3 separate regions of the Homo sapiens genome follow, and regions 1 and 2 are each linked to region 3. Evidence: promoter capture Hi-C in 16 types of primary human blood cells and fetal thymus (Javierre and others, 2016). All regions are on one chromosome and are shown on one strand. Each heading gives the region's core, a stretch centred on a gene start or on the middle of the fragment in contact. The rest is flanking DNA. Distances are from core to core; before and after follow the strand shown.

Region 1 (4,602 bases), core at 164-2,663, 530 kb after region 3:
GGCTGCAAGAGCTCCAGTCATTTCCATTGCCTCAGGGGCACTTTGCTACCTCCTCTGCCTGGCACACAACATGCTCCCCAGCCAAGACTGTTCCCTCAGCACATAGCACGCCTTGGCCAGCAGGTCTCCTCCTGTCCTTCAAAGGGAACCTCCTCATTTGTGATTTCAAAGCTGGACTCCCAGGAACACCCTCCTCCCTTACTGGAACAATCTTCCCCATCTTGTCTGCCTACCGGAATTTTTCCCAACCAGAAAAGCGTCTTGAGAGAATGGAAAAGTCTTATGAATTTGGAAAGTTGACAGCTTGAATTCAAATCCTAGCTTGAACTTGTGAATTTCTACTTTCCTTTACGAAAACCTTTGCATGCCATTCTGTGCAGGCACTAGCAAGGTGGTGGGAGGGAGATGGATACAGTAGGGTGAGTGCCGTGTAAAGAAAAGGGAGCAAAGTCTGGGACTGCAGAGAAATGCCACAAAGCACAGACAGAAGAGTCCCGGAGGCTTCCCAGAGAAAGATGACAGCCAATGGGAGACCTCCAGGGAAAGCAGGAGTTAAGAAGGTAGAAATGCATTAGGGAAGTGTGGCATGAGCATGATGGTCAATTTCAATGTGTCCACTTGCCTGGGCTAAGGGATGCCCAGATAGCTGGCTAAACAGTCTCTCTGGGGGTGTCTGTGAGGGTATTTCCAGGAGACACTAGCATTTGAATTGAATAGACTGGGTAAATTTCTTGTTGGTAGACTGAGTAAAGAAAATCACCCTCACCAGTGTGGTGGGGATCATCCAACCATAGAGGACCAGAATAGAACAAGAAGGCAGAGGAAGGTTGCATTCTCTCTGTTCAAGCTGGGACATCCGTCGTCTGCTCTTGGACATTTGCACTCCTGGTTCTCCAGCTTTTGGACTCTGGGACTTACAGCAGGGCCCCTCTGCTCCTCAGGCCTTCAGTCTTAGACTGAGCCACACCACCAGCTTTCCTAGTTATCCAGCTCCAGCTGGCATATTGTGGGACTTCTCAGCCTCCATAATTGAGTGAGCCAACTCCCATTATAAATATTCTCTTATTTATCTACATACATCCTATTGGTTTTGTTTCTCTAGAGAAATTCTGTTTCCCTGAATAATACAATGACCAAGGCCCAAGACAAAACACATGGTGAGCTCCAAGAGCCACGCAGAGTCCCGCAAGGCAGGAGAGCTCAGGCACATAGTGGAAGCAGAGATTTTGAAGTTGGGCATGAGCTGTGTCTTGGAGTCTCCCCATGTCACTGGGCTTAAACTGTGTCCTGGAAGGAACAGAACATCCCAGAGGGGTCTCAGTCAGGGCATGGCTTGTACTTTGGAGAGACAGCATTGGGTTTATGTGAAGAATGAAGGAAGAAGAGAAAGCACTGGGTTTATGTGAAGAATGAAGGGAAGCAGAAAGGCAAACCCATAGGGCATTGAGTAACCTCCATGGAAGTCCATGAGGGTAGGGTTTTAACCTCGGTGGGCCTCAGCTTCTGTTCGTATAAAATGGGAATAACACAGACCCTGCTGGGTGCTGTAAGGCTACATAAGCTAGCCTGCCTAGAGTGACCAGAGCACACAGTAGGTGCTCACTAAATGTGACTTGCTGGGCTTCTAGTCTGCATGGCCAAAGGCCCTTCCCTCGGACCTTTCCGTGTGGATGCCTCACAGGCTGCTCAGTCTACACATCCAGAACTGTCCTCCCTCCCTGGAACCTACTCTTTCTCCTCTCTTTGCTATCTCAATGAATGGCACCCCATCCTCCCCATCGCCCAGGAAATCTGGGCAAAATCCTCATTTCTTCCTTGCTGTCCTCCATGCACCTAATAATCCAGCCTCAATTTTTGGCAATTCCAACTTCTAAAATCTCTTAACGCCAGCAACCCCTCTTCTTGCTTACTTATCACCACCCACCTCAGGACTCCCATGACAGCCTTCCTGTGATGCATGACGGGCACATGACAAGGGCAGTTGAGGGTCAGGGGCCACGGGAGCAGGATGCAGCCAGCACATGAGGGAGGATAGGCGGGAGGACAGGCAGACACTTGTGCGTAAGAGCACGCACTTGTCAGGCTGCCTGGGTCCAAGTCCTAGCTCCACCACTGAGGGGCTGTGTGTCTCTGGGCAAGTCACTGGGCCTCTCTGTGCCTTAGTTCCTGCCTCTAGAGAACGGAGATGAGAAGAACACATCACCTCATAATTAATTACTGCATAAGTAATAATTTTAATTATATTGACTATTATACTCTATTAGTGTATGATGTCTTTTATTATATATATTTATCATATAATATACTAATTATATTAATGAGTATACTATAGTATTTTATATAACATACCCTAATTGCTTATTATATATCTGTATAATTATTTTATCATATAAGATAATTTCATAAGCTAAGATGGTATTTTATATATTTCATTTATTATATATTTATATTTATATACTTTATTGTATTTGAATTGTGATGTCTAATAAAATAATAGATACGTTAATTATCCTTCATATTCATAATAAGCTCCTTCATTGGTGTCTGGGAAGCCGAGAACATTTGTGCGTGTGAGCTCTCCTGTGTGTTCGGCATGCAGTGTGTTGCGTCTCAGCTGACGTGATTGCTGTTTTTGGTGGCCCGGAGGCACAGGGTGCATGCTACAGGCAGGAAGAGCTTTGGAGCAGGCTGACTCCTGAGCTCTCCTCTGGTGCCGTGGCTTCTGAGGCCCCCAGGTGACAACCAGCCTTTGCCATTCTAGTGTTTCCTCTATGTTCATCCCGCGTTCTGAGTGTGGCACAGGCCACACTCCTGACCCCACCAGCATCAGGTGCTGTGCACATGGTATGAGGTCGGGATGGAGTGCTGTTGGCATGGGGGTTGTTCCTTGGGCTACCTGTGTCCACATGGTCTGATTAACCCCTTCTGCACATCAGCAAGGGTTCAGCACCTCCTCAGGGTTAGGGCATGCGCAGGGCATGCAGGGATTTGAGGGTCCTTGGACAATGCATGTTCTCCATGCAAGCATGCAGAGACATGGAGAGGGTCTTTGTCCCTTTCAGTCCTAACATTCTGTGGCTTCATAACTACTTGTCCCACACCCGAGTAAAAAGCAGGATCTTCTCAGCACTGTGCTGAGGAAGTCTTTAAACCTTCCAGTAGGACATGGGATCCCTGCCTGCATCTTAAGTTCCCATGTCCTTAGGAAACGTGGCCACCTTGGAATTCAGCTCTCCAAGAAGCCCAGTGTGAATGCCCATTGCAGGAGCATCTGAGCTCACCCCCACTAACCCTGAGGTATCTGTTGAAAAGAATAGAACCCACCCACTGAAACTATCAGAGATCAAATGTTGTGTGTTGACTAAGAATTTGTGTTAAGGCAGGGATAGTTGAGCACCAATGCTTTCAAGGAACTCTGGAGAAATGCAAGCCTGTATTTCCTCTCAGCATGGCTGCAGAAGAGGGCCAGGGCAGCAGACAGGCATTTTGACCCACTCACAGATGAATACAAAGACTAAACTCAGCAAAAGCCTTGAGGTTGCATTTATGTGTCTGAGAACAGTCCCTGGAGCACAGGCATGGGCTTTTGGTACCACGTAACCTACAACCGTAAGCTCTCTGCTCTATGCTGTCCACTCCATCAATCCCACAGTGCCTGAAATGTCATTGTCTTACCCGATGTCTGGGGTAGCATCTGTGAACACACGGATTTGACACTTTTATGATGCTGTTTGTCTCTACTGAACCCTTCTTAAGCAAAATCACAGTAGACTAGCAGATCATGGTAGTATCTGAAAGCGCCAGGACCCCAGAACCTCAATCAGTGCTCCCCACTTCCCATGGTTTTCTCCCTGTGTTTCCACATTTGGATTGTCATTGTCTGTGAAAAGGCATGATCCCTGTCAACAACACACAGTGTATGCAATGTGTGTCTTGTGTAAAACGGAGTGTGAATTCTTGAGAGCAGGAAGGAAAAGGGGTACAAGAGGTTCCCCTGCGAGATGGGTGAGGAGCAGGGCAGAGTGAGCCTGGCTGCTGGGAACCCCTGAGGAGAGCTCTGGAGAGGGTTCTGGACACGTGGGCTTGGTCAGCCTGACAATTAGGATTTGTGTTAACAGGACCGGCCCTCACCTGACACCAACTGGACTGAGGTTCCCAGGAGAAACTCTTAGCATCATGACTTTGGAGGTTGCCATCATTTTTGATGACTTTTTCTTTTTCCTTCTTTTCTGTTTCCCTCTTGTCAAGTTTCTACCTGTAAGTTATACTTACTTATTCTGTGTTTCTTTACAGTCTCAGGGGAAATTCCGTTGAGTTGAAAATTTCCTCAGCTCCTCGCTCCAGTTTCTCAGAAGAGTCTCTCTCCTTGCAGAAAAGACTGTGGGTGGGAGTCACCAATTTAGCATATTTCTACTAAAAATATGACTCCATCCCAAGAAATTGGTTTTAAAGATTTGAGGAAAAACTGCTTTTAGATTTCAGAGAAAGAAAAAGAGTGTGTTTCTACTTCCCCCTTTTAAATCTGATAACTTTTATTTTAATCAGGTTGACATTCTGTGGTGAGCTTGTGGTTAACTCTTTCATGCCCGGAAGCCTGTTGTC
Region 2 (4,528 bases), core at 220-2,719, 550 kb after region 3:
CATATATTTTTTCTGCTCCATTCTTTCTCTTCTCTATCATTGGGAATTCAATTAAATGTAGGTTAGGCTATTTAATATTGTCTTACAGCATGCCAAAGGTCCATTCTTTTTCAGATTTCTTGTGTTCATCAGTTTGGATAATTTCTATTGATTTGCCTTCAAGCCCCGGCTAGGCTCATTTCAGATATTGTAACTTTTAGTTTTAATTTTTTATGTTTAAAAATATTGGCTGGGCACGGTGGCTCACACCTGTAATCCCAGCACTTTGGGAGGCCAAGGCAGGTGGATCATCTGAGGTCAGGAATTCGAGACCAGCCTGGTCAACATGGTGAAACCCCATCTCTACTAAAAATACAAAAATTAGCCATGTATGATGGCATGTGCCCGTAATCCAAGCTATTTGGGAGGCTGAGGCAGAAGAATCACTTGAATCTGGGAGGCAGAGGTTTCAGTGAGCCAAGATTGTGCCACTGCACTCCAGCCTGGGCAACAGAGCAAGACTCCATCTCAAAAAAAAAAATTACAAGTTTTCATTTATCTACTGAGATATCCTGTTGTTTCACTCATTATAACCATTTTTTCTTTAAATTAGCAGTTGGCAATTTTTTTTCTGAAAGGGCCAGAGAGTAAATATTTTAGGCTACCTGGCGATGTTACTCCACTGCAACTACTCAACTCTGCCATTATAGCAGAAAAGCAGCCATAGACAAAATGTAAATAAATGGGTGTGTCTTTCTTCCAATAAAACTTTATTTATAAAAATAAACCACTGAACACAGTGTCTCACTCCTGTAATCCTAGCACTTTGGGAGGCCGAGGCAGGTGGATCACCTGAGGTCAGGAGTTCGAGACCAGCCTGGCAAACGTGGTGAAACCTCATCTCTACTAAAAACACAAAAAGTAGCCAGACGTGTTGGCGCACACCTATAATCCCAGCTACTTGGGAGGCTGAGGCAGGAGAATCGCTTGAACCCGGGGGGCAGAGGTTGCAGTGAGTCAAGATTGCACCATTGCACTCCAGCCTGGGCAACAAGAGCGAAACTCTGTCTCAAAAATAAATAAATAAATAAATAAATAAATAAATAAATAAATAAATAAATAAAATAAATGGCAGCAAATCTGCAGGTCATAGTTTACTGACCTCTGCTTTAAGTCATTGAGTGTAATTACAACTGTTTTAAATTCCTTTTGTGCTAATTCCAAAATCTAGGTCATTTTAGGGGTCTTTTTTTTTTTTTTTTGAGACAGACTCTCACTCACTCTGTAACCCAGGCTGGGGTGCTCGGCTGACTGCAACCTCCACCTCCCAGGCTCAAGCAATTCTCCTGCCTCAGCCTCCCAAGTACCTGGGACTACAGACATGCGCTGCCACACTCGGCTGATCTTTTGTATTTTTAGTATAGATGGGATGTCACCATGCTGGCCAGGCTGGTCTGGAACTCCTGACCTCAGATGATCCGCCTGCCTTGTCGCCCCAAAGTGCTGGGATTACAGGCATGAGCCACCACACCCAATTTTACGGGTCTGTTTCTATTGAGCACTTTTTTGAGTAGGTCAAGTATGTCACATTTTCCTGTTTCTTCACATGTCTAGATTTTCTTTTAATTTGCTGGATATTATGAGCTATACATTATAAAGGGTCTAGATTATCTTATGGTCCTTTAAAAGGTAATGCATTTTGCTCTGCCAGGCAGTTAAATGACTAGCGCATCCTCTTGTCTATTAGGCTTGGTTTTAATCTTTGTAAGGGCAGGTCTATTTTGGTTTTGAAATTCATCCTAGGGATGCCTCTTTCTCTAAAGCAGGATTGGAAAACTACAACCCACAGCTCAGACACCTGTTTTTATAAATAAAACTTAGCATAACTCTTCTTCTCTCAGCCCTCACAATGGACAATCAGGGCTAAGTTTCACTGAGTTCTGCCCTGTTCAGGTTCAGACCAGCTCTTGGCTAAGAACCTGAGGTGGACCCCTATACATAATTTTGGGGCGACCTTCATGCAGTGTCCTCTCCAGAGCCCCACCCCACAAATCCCAGTCATGTCACGTCAATGAAACCACTCTGCTTGGGTTCCACCTGGGTGCTGCCGGGAAGGAAAGCACCCCAGGAAGGAAGCCAGGGCAACTGTGGGCGCCTCTCACGTGTTTCCCTCCTCCAAAATCATGTAGCCCTGAGCTGCCTGTTGTTCAGCACCTGAAAGCACTTGCTGTATACATTTGGACTGGTTTTACAGCTGTTTCAGCAGAAACGTAAGTTTTGGTCCCAGTTACTCTGTGATGGCTGGAAGCAGAAGTCTTCACTGGTTTTTCTGATTATTATCCATGTCTTGCTTTAGTAACAGATTTATCTTCTGATACTTAAAATATTGGTTGGTGTTGATCCATAATAAGTGCCAACAAATGGTACCAGTGATATGAGAAGTACAGAGAGACAAACTTTTGCAGGAGTTAAAGGTTAAGGTAAACTTCAGTCCAGTCTCTATCTGAATTACCATTCTCTTCTTCTGGACAGTGAGAAAAAGGAAAGGAACAGAACTACCATCTATTCCATACCTGTTATTTTCCAGGCTTTCTTCAAGTTACCTTAGTATATTATTTGCTATAATCATTAAATCAATAAAATAATAATTATTACAGCACGAAGCTGAGCCTTAGAGAAGTAAAATAATAAAACTATGTAGCTTGTAAGCTGCTGGAGCTAGAAGTTAGAAACCCATCTTTCTCCTTCCCACCATGCTGCTGCTCTTGCCTTATCATGAGATTACCAGCATTTATTGAGCACTTATGTTGCCTGTTCCACTGTAATTTCTGGCCCATGGAGCCCATTTAAATTGCTTTTGCTTAGTCCCTTGTTGGTTAGAGATGGGCCAAGCTGTCTGATTTCTCCCTATCTTCGTTTTTTTTTTTGAGACAGAGTCTTGCTGGGTTTCCCAGGCTGGAGTGCAGTGGCGTGATCTCGGCCCACTGCAACCTCTGCCTCCTGGGTTCAAGTGATTCTCCTGCCTCAGCCTCCCAAGTAACTGGGACCACAGGCACATGCCACCACGCCCGGCTAATTTTTTTGTATTTTTAGTAGAGACTGTGGTTTTCACCATGCTGGCCAGGCTGGTTTTGAACTGCTGACCTCATGTGATCTACCCGCCTTGGCCTCCCAAAGTGCTGGAATTACAGGCATGAGCCATTGCACCCAGCCTCCCTACCTTCAGTTCTTAGGGGAGACAGGAGAGTCCTGAGCCATTGGATGGGGATGGTCTTCCGGAGGACAAGGTGCTGGGCAGAGTCTAAGGGCACAGAGAAGCTTCACTTAACCTGAATGACCAATACACAACCGGCCAACCCACAGCCATAAGTACAGCCAGCAGCCCTGATCAGCCTCCGTGTGGGCTTCCATTGACGGAGAGGCCACAGACTCCTGCTTTCCTGCCTCTTCCTGTCCCTGTCATCTCCCCGTCCACTTCCTTTATCCAGCATGTGATATTTCCCCCCAAAATCTAATCTCTTAGAGCAGAGAACTTGTTGCAAAGTAGGCAATGGAATTATTTTTCTGATTAGACCTGTGCCACTTTTCCTTTTAATAGTTTGATGTTTGACCACTGCTTCTGGTGCCTTTAGTGAGATACCAGAGTCCATTTTTCAGGCTGAGGGAGGCTAAGGTCTTCATAATATAAGAAGGTATTTGGTGAACTCAGAGGTGGGCAGGTGGGTGAGAAATACACATTTCCTATTTGCCAGACATTGAGTGAAGCACTTTCTGTATATTTCTCAAAAAATGGCGCACAGTCATTAATTATAGAAAGTCTAACAACTCGTATATCCTTAAAAGTATCTTGCACAGACATATTTTGCCCCTCAATTAAATGTACGTAACTTTGCTTCTTCCTTTCTTCACATTCCTTGACCCTCCTCTCTCCATACTTGCTTGACATGAGGCATATTCGGAATAAAACCTTGTTAATTTCTACTCATCTAGTTTGAAATACATTGTGCTTTGGAGAGGAGCTTGGTTGTAGTTAATTTTTGAGCCAGCTCTGATACAAAGCTTTCTAAAGAACAATGGTAGCAGCCTTAGTTGCTTTCTCACAAAAAGTAGGGCATACCATCTTTTAAATAAAGTGAAGAAATATGTGATTAAGTCATTATAGGATTAAATATGTGAGTACTTGCCTGGGGCCTCTTGAGTTCCTAATAGGCTTCTTTTGCTTTGCAGAGCTCTGTGACGATGACCCGCCAGAGATCCCACACGCCACATTCAAAGCCATGGCCTACAAGGAAGGAACCATGTTGAACTGTGAATGCAAGAGAGGTTTCCGCAGAATAAAAAGCGGGTCACTCTATATGCTCTGTACAGGAAACTCTAGCCACTCGTCCTGGGACAACCAATGTCAATGCACAAGCTCTGGTAAGTGTCCCTTCTGTGACTACCAAGAACAAAAGAACTGCAGCAAAGAGTGAGACAGAGCCCAGCTTTTGTTCACTCAGCCCTATAGACACAAATGGGCCAGTCCAGTCTACAGGATAACTAATTTTAG
Region 3 (4,498 bases), core at 1,053-3,552:
GAGCCCAGGAGTTTTAAACCAGCCTGGGCAACATAGTGAGACCCCGTCTCTACAAAAAAATCTTTTTAAATATTAGCTTGGTCATGGTGATGTGTGCCTGTAGTCCCAGCTATTTGGGAGGCTGAGGTGAGAGGATAACTTGAGTCCTGGGGGATCAAAACTGCAGTGAGCTATGATCACGCCGCTGCACTCCATCCTGGGCAACACAGCAAGACTCTGTCTCAAAAAGAAAAAAAAAAGTCCTTATCATACCTGGTGTATATATGAAACTTTTTCTAAAGCCACTAACTACTGATTAAATTAACAGGACATATGAGCTTCCTTTCAGTGCCTAATTGTCAATGAGAAACCCAGATATGGAGCGTGAGGAATCTACCATCTTCTAGGCACAGTAGCTGTTATCCGTTTGCCATTTCTTCTTTGCACTGTAACAGGATCCGCTGAAAAACAATTGGAGAAAGAGCCAGATGGATGGCAGTCTGAACTAGGGAAGCTTCTGTTTTGTAGTTTGCAGAAAGAATCTGCATGGGGATCACTGCTTAAGCTTTGCCTCTTTGTTTCCAGACACAGACGCACTTTCCTGCCTAATTTCCATAGCAAATACCCAATGAGCGCCTACTGTATGCCAGGTTCTGATGATGTCAGAGTGAGCCAGCACTTCCGAGGTACTGGCCACTCTCAAACCTCCTGGCTAGGATCTTCCAAGAGCTACAGCCTCTGGCCTGAGGGTCAGTCCAATGCTGTTAGATATTGACAAATGCGGGGCTAATTTTAATGGAATATAGTTTTATCCTTAAAAGGTGTGTGTGTTTTGGCTTTATTTGGGTTCATATAGATTAGGGGCATCATCATAACTCGCTTCCTAGTGCAGACCTGAGTGATTTAATCAAGTCTTGAAACACTTCGGGGCCTCAGTTTTTCATCTGCCTTCCCAACCTCTGAGGTTCTTTTTAGTTGACATCCTACATTCCCATGATCAGAAGGCTGCTAATTCAACTTTTGGCTTTTGTTAAACCTTTTTTTTTTTTGAGGCAGAGTTTTGCTGTCACCCAGACTGCAGTGCAGTGGTGAGATCTCAGCTCACTGCAACCTCCTCCTCCCAGGTTCAAACGATTCTCCTGCCTCAGCCTTCTGAGTAGCTGGGATTACTGGCACGTGCCACAACACCCAGCTAATTTTTGTATTTTTAGGAGAGACACGATTTTGCCATGTTGGCCAGGCTGGTCTCAAACTCCCAGCCTCAAGCGATCCACCCGCCTCAGCCTCCCAAAGTGCTGGCATTACAGGCATGAGCCACCGCACCTGGCCTGTTTTGTTTTGTTTTAATCGTTTTTAATGTCTCTCTCAAAACAAGAAAAGAAAAAAGGACAAAAAATTACTATTTTACTTCTCAGATTAATCTGATCTTAGTACACTACAGCAACAAAAGTCTTAATCAAGTACGTTTTAATTATTTGGTGTCATCATTGCAAGGAAACCATTCAGTAAGAATATTAGTAACCAGACATATAATTTTCTAACCTGAATGAGAAATTAGTTACATGGAGTATAGAAAAAGAAACCACCCCGTTTATCCTCCCTGTGACCATCATTAGTATTACCCGCAAGGCATAAAAAGTCCTAAAATGACACGCACGGCGGCAACATTACCTTTGCAGCTTCAAGCACAGTAAAGTTGAAAGCAGTCCCACCTTGGCAATTGTGTATAAAACGACAATGTGCAGATACAGGAAAAGTCCCAGGTCCGAAGCCACCTAGGAACGATGACCCCAGGACAGAAGTGTGCCCAAACAAATGCCTGGGGTAGGTCATTTTAAAAGGAACAATGTTTACAAGCCCTTTCTAGCGTGAAAAACAGAGAAAAGAGACCCAGCTCTTTCCACCCAATCTGCTGGAGCGCCGTTTCGTTTTCAGTTGGGCGAGAGGGAGACATGTGGCCTCTCGCCCCTTTTCCTGACTCTGAGAATGTGGCCGGAGCCGGGGCGCTCCTGCTCCGCCTCGCCGCCCTCCCGGGGCTGTCCTGGGCCCTCCGGCCGCCGCCTCCCGCTCCAGTTCGCAGCTGGGCGACAAGTGGCTGGTAAGGAGGCCAGGGGCGGGAGCCTGGGCGCGGGACCGGGGGCGCACGGCGGGGGACCGAGCGCGCGTCCCTGGCTAGAGGTGCCGGGTCCCGGGAGGCCGGGCTGGCGGGGAGGCTGGCGAGCGCCCCCTGGCGGGCACCGCCTTCTAGGCGCACCCGCAGTGCGCCGGGCCCGCCAGCCCCGCCAGCCCCGCCAGCCCCGCCAGCCCCGCCAGTCCCCGCGCAGTCCCCGCGCAGTCCCCGCGCAGTCCCAGCGCCACCGGGCAGCAGCGGCGCCGTGCTCGCTCCAGGTAGGGCCCCGCGCCCCGCGCCGCCGCCGGGAGGGAGCGGGCTGGAGGGGCCGAGACCCGTGGCGAGAAGGGCTACCCGGGCCCCTCGGAGAGCCTCCGGGAAGGGGTGAGGGCTGCCGGGTGAGCAGGCGGAGTAGGAAATGGAACCAAGCGGGCGCAAGAGCGCACCGGGAAGAATTTCCCCGCTGGGTTTCTGGGACGCAGGTCGCACGGGATGCGGGATGCTGGCGACCTTAGCCGGGTGGGGGCCGCCGGCCTGGGGGCGCTTCCTCCTTTCTTCTCCCTTTTCCTTCTCACCTGAACGAAAGGGGGCCTGCGGGGAGGGAAGAAGGTGGAAAGTTTTTGTATTCTTGGTAAAAAAAAAAAAAAAAAATGCGTGAGGAAACATGTTTTCTGGAGATGGTATCCTGTCCACAGGGGAGCATAACCCCTTTTCTGGGAATGTATTGGAGCACGGACGGGGGTGCCATTGCTCAGGCTTCTAAACAAGCCAAGTTTCTGGTCAAGGGCCTGGGGGAGGGGGAGGCAGGTCTTTGAAAGATACCAAAAAAAAAAAAAAAAGAAAAATCTGCGTGCTCATTCCTGTAGCCTCAAGTGAGGTTATTCCCCAGCTTTGAGGGCCAGGTTAACCAAGCAAAGTTTGTGCAATAAAGTATCTTTGTGGTATTGGATTTTCGAGAGCCACCGTTATCAATGGGAGAGTGACTGTTGAATGCTACAGGCGTGTGCACTCCCCCGTGGGCATGAAGAGAGGTCCACGGGCTGGCTGGATTGGGAGACTCCGGTCATTTCTGCAAGGAGAGCGCCACAGGACTGCCTTGTTCCCTGGGCTGTCCTGCCCCTGTGCGGGCTGGACGTGGTGCTATAAAAGATGATTCAGGAGTGGCACAGGCTGAGGGGGACTAGGCTGGAGAAGGTGGAGGGAAGAGGGAGCACTCCGTGCCCTCTTCCTGTCCATGGGAAATGAACCATCTGTGCCTGGTGTCCAAGTCCTTGACGTTCCAGTTGCCCTTTGAGAGCACACCTCAAGCCTGCTGAATTCTTTTAAGAACCACCTACAAGATCTGAGAAGTCCGCCCATGCTTTCTGTCAACTCCGGCCTCTTTGACCTTTTCTTTTGCCAAAGAAAATTCTAAACCACTGGGATTCGTGAGGCTCCGTGAGAGAGGCAAGAAGCCTGGAGGGTCCACTCCGTTGCTCTTTTCCCTTGGTTTGCTCCCTAGAAGCCATGGTCCCCACTGGGCCCTTCTTGCCCGAGGCTGTGTGATAGACAAGCCCTATTCCTAAGGTCCTGGGTCCCCCACCCCACCCCACACCCCGACCTTGTGAATCATCATCTTCATATTTTCCCTAACTTATCTTTGGTAACCCTTGTAAAATGGCAGGCTTACTGCGGATGCTTAATCTCTTTTAAAAGTGCTGTGTCTAGCGGGAAGAAGAGTGACATTTACTAATATGGTTGCAAATTACTTTTGAAGTTTATGCACAGCTGTTTAAAATCCCTCTGAGATCAGTGCCATTGTTTGATGCAGGTGCTTACCGCAGAAGGCTCTTGTTAGTCCCTTCCTCCTGCTGATTGAACATACATATATTTAAAGACGTGGCGTAGGGAGAGCTTCTAAAACCTGCAAAGCCAAAGCTGCACAGCTCCTGCAAGTTAGCGATCCACTCTAAGTTTTTCAGTTGTTGTTTCTGTCTTCTTGCCTCTCATGAACTTCTGTTTCTGATTTCAAGAGTAACCTGCTGGGCACCATCAGCCTTTGTTTCAGTGACCTGCGATTTTCTTCTACACTTTAAAAATGTCAATATCCAGGCAAGACTCTTGTCACCCACCATCCGCGTTGTCATGTTCATTTCCGCTACTGTCTTGTGCTGTGGTGCCTCGGGATGGCAACTGTTACTTGAGGAGCTAACTTCTACCTCTGTTCTCCTACAGACATGTCCTCATTGCGTCTTCGCTCACCATACACGGTGCAGCTCCTGGAAATTTGATTTGTTTTGCTGTCTCACTTCTCCTTCAGGCAACAAGGGGATGGTGTTCGATTATTCACACCTCAGCTCCTTCTGTAATCTCAAAGATCCCTTTCAACAATAATACTCTCTGTCTCTTGTTAACGCCAGGCATCAGAAG

What was found. The method cuts DNA at HindIII sites, captures the fragments that hold promoters and counts their contacts. A CHiCAGO score of 5 or more calls a contact.
Region 1: a fragment that was not itself captured here is called in contact with the fragment with the promoter of PRKCQ in region 3 in 1 of 17 cell types (non-activated CD4 T cells); the score reaches 5.4 in non-activated CD4 T cells.
Region 2: a fragment that was not itself captured here is called in contact with the fragment with the promoter of PRKCQ in region 3 in 1 of 17 cell types (non-activated CD4 T cells); the score reaches 6.1 in non-activated CD4 T cells.

What each region holds. Positions count from the first base shown.
Region 1 is chr10:6,045,507-6,050,108 of GRCh38, reverse strand. The region is part of intron 1 of IL2RA (interleukin 2 receptor subunit alpha); the gene reads left to right. Among named protein-coding and RNA genes, the nearest start is that of IL2RA-AS1, 12 kb to the right of the region's middle. The HindIII fragment of the contact is 9,510 bases long and covers 1-4,602 here.
Region 2 is chr10:6,025,704-6,030,231 of GRCh38, reverse strand. It overlaps IL2RA (interleukin 2 receptor subunit alpha), which reads left to right. Exons shown (of 8, transcript NM_000417.3): 2 at 4,207-4,398. Among named protein-coding and RNA genes, the nearest start is that of IL2RA-AS1, 7.4 kb to the left of the region's middle. The HindIII fragment of the contact is 3,660 bases long and covers 1-3,299 here.
Region 3 is chr10:6,578,080-6,582,577 of GRCh38, reverse strand. It overlaps PRKCQ (protein kinase C theta), which reads left to right and starts at 2,302. Exons shown (of 18, transcript NM_006257.5): 1 at 2,302-2,367. It overlaps PRKCQ-AS1 (PRKCQ antisense RNA 1), which reads right to left and starts at 2,153. Exons shown (of 2, transcript NR_036503.1): 1 at 1,651-2,153. RefSeq lists silencers at 1,891-2,040, 2,051-2,300. The HindIII fragment of the contact is 7,587 bases long and covers 547-4,498 here.